2 separate regions of the Homo sapiens genome follow, and region 2 is linked to region 1. Evidence: promoter capture Hi-C in 16 types of primary human blood cells and fetal thymus (Javierre and others, 2016). All regions are on one chromosome and are shown on one strand. Each heading gives the region's core, a stretch centred on a gene start or on the middle of the fragment in contact. The rest is flanking DNA. Distances are from core to core; before and after follow the strand shown.

What was found. Contacts are between HindIII fragments. The CHiCAGO score rates a contact against its expected background, and 5 or more counts as called.
Region 2: the fragment with the promoter of ABCB10 here is called in contact with a fragment that was not itself captured in region 1 in 1 of 17 cell types (total B cells); the score reaches 5.6 in total B cells.

The regions. Positions count from the first base shown.
Region 1 is chr1:230,644,341-230,647,043 of GRCh38, reverse strand. The region is part of intron 1 of COG2 (component of oligomeric golgi complex 2); the gene reads right to left. Among named protein-coding and RNA genes, the nearest start is that of COG2, 3.2 kb to the right of the region's middle. The HindIII fragment of the contact is 5,232 bases long and covers 1-2,703 here.
Region 2 is chr1:229,557,455-229,560,232 of GRCh38, reverse strand. It overlaps ABCB10 (ATP binding cassette subfamily B member 10), which reads left to right and starts at 1,526. Exons shown (of 13, transcript NM_012089.3): 1 at 1,526-2,097. The coding sequence starts at 1,581. RefSeq lists an enhancer at 747-936 and silencers at 1,107-1,806, 1,867-2,316. The HindIII fragment of the contact is 4,467 bases long and covers 1-2,778 here.

The DNA of each region.
Region 1 (2,703 bases), core at 17-2,516:
GCCTGTGATGTAGAACACGGACTAGAAAAAGGCAAGAATGGATGCCAGGGGACTACAGTAAGAAGCCACTAGATTATAATGGCCAGAGATAATGATGAGTCAGAAAGTGGGAAAAGAGGAGATGGAGAGAAGTAGACAAATTTCAGAGATATTTGGGAAGTGAAATCCTAAGGCTTAGTAACAGGTTGGATTTCAAGAATGTGAAGGAGAGAGGTGTTATCAAGGATGACTCCTTGATAACATCTGACTCACAACCAGATGGATGGATTACCTCAGGTCTAGTATTACCTGAGATAGGTAATACCAGAAGAGAGCCAAGTTTGAGAGAAGGTTGGTTTTTTTCATCTTCCCCCAACAAATTCAGTTTTAAATATGCCGAGTTTGAGGTGCCACAGAGATAGCCAAGAAGAGATGTCAAGGCGCTGTGCACATGGGGTTGCAGATAAGAAGGTATTTGGGCCAGAAGTATGAACCTTTCACCTGTCTACACGTGGTCATTGAAGCTGCATGAAGTGGGTCACCTGCGGAAAGTGCACAGCATGTGAAAAGGAACAGACACGTGGCTGAGTCCATAACCCACCAATTAATGGCTAGGAGGAGAATGATTATGCAAAAGAGACAAGGAGACCAGAGAGGCCAAAAGATAACCAGAAAGCACCAGGTTTCAGAAAGCAAATGAAGGGAGCATTTGATCTACTGAGGTCAGGGAAGGAAGCAGAGAAGGTCTGGTGGATCGACTTCCATCTAGTTAACTTTGGTGAGAAGTCTTTAGTGGAATGATGGGGCCAGAAACCAGAGTGAAGTGAATTTAAGAGTGAAGGGAGAGAAAGTAAAGACAACATTTGGCTGTGAGCATTTGGCTGTGAGATGGAAGAGAGCGATGGGCTTTAACTGGAGGTTGGAGGGTCCAGTAGAAGAAACTAAAATAGGAGTGTGTCTGAAAGCCAATGGGAAGAAGTGTGGAGAGGGTGGGAATAACAGGGTCCTGAGAAGGGAGAGGGCACCGGATCCAGGCATGGGAGGCAGACCTCAGGAGGAAGGAAAGACCCCTACACCAGCGTCCCCAACTACCTGTGGGGAACCGGGTGGCCCAGCAGGAGGAGCGCAGCCTGTATTCACAGCCACTCTGTATTGGAGCTCCGCCTCCTGTCAGATCAGTGGCAGCACTAGATTCTCATAGGAGCATGGACCCTACTGTGAACTGCACATGCGAGGGATCTAGGTTAGGCACTCCTTATGAAAACCTAATGCTGAATGATCTGTCAGTGTCTCCCATCACCCCCCAGACAGGACTGTCTAGTTGCAAGAAAACAAGGTCAGAGCTCCCACTGATTCTACATTACGGTGAATTTTATAACTATTTCATTATGTATTACAATGTAATAATTATAGAAATAAAGTGTACAATAAATGTAATGCGCTTGAATCACCCCAAAACCATCCCCTGCACTCCTGGTCCATGGAAAAATTGTCTTCCAAAAGTGTCAAAAAGGTTGGGGACCATTGCCCTACACAACAGGTTAATGATGGGAGTGAGAACAGGTACAAATGCAAGAACGAGGTTGCTGTCAGCAAGATGAAGGAGCTACCGCTTGATGGCCTCTATTTTTTCTGTAAAACACATGAAGTCATACGTGAGACAGAAGGATATGATTGCCACAGCATACCTAGGTTAAGTGGGTTTAAGTTATCCCTGTTAGCCTACCACCTCTCTCCTACTACCAGTATCTTACATCCTAATTCATCTACTGATTGTCAACCCTCTCTAAGAGTGTTTGTACATTTTCTTTTTTTTTTTTTTTTTTTTTTTGACAGGGTCTCTTTCTGTTGCCCAGGCTGAAGTGCAGTGCTGCAATCCTGGCTCACTGCAGCCTTGACCTCCACAGGCTCAGGTAATCCTCCCACCTCAGCCTCCCAAGTAGCTGGGACTACAGGTATGTGCCACCACACCTGGCTAATTTTTCAATATTTTGTAGAAATGCATTCTCACTATGTTGCTCAGTGTGTATATTTTATTAAGCTGACGAAGTCAACAGTATCATGCCATTACCACCTTTGACCCCTCAAGTGATTCGTTCATCTGCCACTCCTGCTTTTTGATCATTTACGTAATATTTTCCACAAACTATCCCCTCCTGTATTTCTCAGATCTCATAAAAACCACTGAAATAACTTTTTAAGTAGCCTCCCGCCACCAGTCAGTTCCAACTGCAACATACATGATCATGTCATTTCCTGCTTTTAACCTGACTGTAACTCCACAATGAATACTAAATCAAGTGCAAATCCGTCAGTACAGTATACAAGGCCCATTGAAACCTGCACACAGCAGGTGATCATGGAATGCCCACTGACTGAACAATTGCTACCACTGCACTAGCATGCCCTCATGATCTATGGCAACCTAAACACAGTTTCCCATCAACACCAGAAGAGACGTAATACCAGAAGAGAGGTAATAACAGAAGAGAGTGGATTTCAAGCAACTTTAAATCTGGATTTTCAAGCAATCTCAAATCTCCCAATGCAAATGTCATATCCCAACTTTCTCACACGTACAAAACCTATCCAATTACAAAATGTGCTGAATGAGACACAAACATAGAAATATAGCCTGGACAAGTGTTCCAACCATCCTTTCTGCCATGGAAGTGCAACTTATATGTAGTTTTATATGTTTAAGGCAACACAAATTGCAAATAA
Region 2 (2,778 bases), core at 277-2,776, 1.1 Mb after region 1:
CAGTTGAAGAGAAAGTGACAACTTTAACCCAAATCTCACCTTCCTCTTACTTTCTCTTTCCCATTTTCCAGCTGCCAAACTAAGGGCAGCTGCTGTCAGTTTTTGTAAATAAAGTTTCCAGGGCTGGGATTAGAGCGAGAGAAGAGAGGCAGGATTGTGAAAGGTCAGGAGTGGATACTCAATCAAAATTTTTTATATTTTGTTCATTACGGATTTTTTAAATTAATTTTGATTTTTAAAAATATTGCACTAAAATGTTTATGTTGATTATTGAGGTTTTTTTATTTTGTGAACCCATAAAATTTGCAACTGACAGTACCCTGTCCAGGTCCAGTAAAAATACCTAGGAGTCTACAAAAATCTACCCACGACTCACTGGACCTCAGGTACATATCCCCCCCCGCCCCCATGAAGTCTCCATAAAGTGTCCCAGTGAGTTTTAATGTTCTCTCCTGTCTTTCCATGCACGTGTATTAAGATGCATTGCCTTCTGATTAGTGTTTTCCACTTCGAACAGCGGGAATGCCTCGACCACGCCTGTCTTCAAATTTCTGCTCTAGTTAAGAAACGATCTCAGGCCGGGCACGGTGGCTCACGCCTGCAATCCCAGCACTTTGGGAGGCTGACGCGGGCGGATCACCTGAGGTCAGGAGTTCGAAAAGAGCCTGACCAACATGGTAAAACCCCGTCTCTACTAAAAATACAAAATCAGCCGGGTGTGGTGGCGTATGCCTGTAATCCCAGCTACTTGGGAGGCTGAGAAGGGAGAATCACTTGAACCTGGGAGGCAGAGGTTGCAGTGAGCCGAGATCGTCTCAAGAAAAAAAAAAAAAAGAAAAAAAAGAAACGATCTCTTCCCTTCTCAAAGTTATATACATTTCACTATTCGCCAACCACCTCCTCCACGCCGTCCAGAGCTGAGCTGACACGCAGCGAAGTCCTCTCAGTGGTCCCTCCGCACCTCAGCCCTGTGCTTGGCAGCGAGACGAGTGACAGGGCCGCCCCAGCATGGGTCTCCCGGGCCGCGGACCCGCCCCACGCCGTATCCAGCACGCTGTCCTCCCGCCCCATCTTTGTGCCGGCCATCGTGTGGTCGCGTCTGCGCGCTCCGCCCGGTCTGCCGGCGTGAGAAAGAGCTCGTGTCGTTCCCAAGTTCAGACCAGAGGGGACGGCGAAGCGCGAAAAAGTTCCCTGCGCCCAGTACGCAGGCGCAGCCGTGCTCCTGGGCTTCCCGGGCCTCGTCCCAGCTGGCGCGCCCGGCGCTCCTCCGCCAGCGGGCAGTTGGGGGCGCTGCAGGGAGGGCACCCGAGCGGGTTGGGGGCGCTCGGAAGGGTGGCTTGCAAGGTCCGGGTAGCTGCAGTCCCCGGAGTGGGGCGGAGAGGCGCGGCACCGCGCGGACGAGGATGGGGCGGGGGCGGGCGCAGCCCGAGGGTGCAGGCACGATAAGGCGGGTGACAGCCAGCGGGGAGGGGCGGGCGCCACCGCGTCCACGCCCTTTGCTCGGGGCCGGGCCGGGAGGGTCCTCGGGCTTTGCGCGCGCCTGGCCGGCGGGCTGAGGCGTACGGGTCGCACGCAGCGCCATGCGAGGCCCCCCTGCCTGGCCGCTGCGGCTGCTCGAGCCACCGAGCCCTGCCGAGCCAGGTCGGCTCCTGCCGGTAGCCTGCGTGTGGGCCGCGGCCAGCCGCGTTCCCGGGTCCCTATCGCCGTTCACTGGCCTGAGGCCGGCGCGGCTATGGGGCGCGGGGCCCGCGCTGCTCTGGGGCGTTGGAGCCGCGCGCCGCTGGAGGAGCGGCTGCCGGGGCGGGGGTCCGGGCGCCTCGCGGGGCGTCCTGGGCCTCGCGCGGCTCCTGGGGCTGTGGGCTCGCGGCCCCGGCAGCTGCAGGTGCGGGGCTTTTGCCGGGCCAGGCGCTCCTCGGCTCCCGCGCGCCCGGTTCCCGGGCGGTCCCGCAGCCGCTGCCTGGGCAGGGGACGAGGCCTGGCGGCGCGGGCCGGCGGCGCCTCCCGGGGACAAGGGGCGGCTGCGCCCCGCAGCGGCCGGACTCCCGGAGGCCCGGAAGCTCCTGGGGCTGGCGTACCCTGAGCGCCGGAGGCTGGCAGGTAGGGTCCTCCCCGGCCACTTCCCTCCGCCGGGCCTCTCCTTCTCCACACGCGGGGTCCCGGGGCGCCGAGAGGGACACGGCCGGGCCGCAGAGCGCGTGTCACCGCCGCCTCTCCTGGGCCACTCCTAACCCCGGAGGAGGGAGGGGATCGCTCACCTCAGAGTAGCGTTGTCAAGATTTCGCCTTAGCTGGGGACTCGTTTGCAGATTTTACACTTGTTTTCTTGTTGACACACGTTATATATGTCATTATTGGAATCTTTGGGTCTGTTCCACCACCAACTTAGTGGGAGCATCTGTTTTGGCTTAGGCAGCAAAATGAGCTGGAGGTTTTTCCTTGGAAAAAAAAATTCTAGCCAAAAATATGCCTATTTTGTTATTAGGCGTTTATACTTTTTTTTTTTAACCAAAAACACATTATTTGCTTCAAGCGAGTCTGTCAAGCAGTCACCAATGCTTTCACAGCGGAAAGCAAAACTTTCAGACTTGTCTCTTGTGCAGGAAGTTACAGCACTGTGTTCAACAGGCCACACCAGTGATCTGTTCAGTAATTGAGTAACTTTTTTAAAAGAAGCCAAAATGAATGTTTTTAGAAACAAAATTTAAATAGGACAGTTTTCTATAGCTCCTCATTTTTTAGCCATAATTGGAGGAGTGTTTAGATGCAAGGGCCTTGTAAG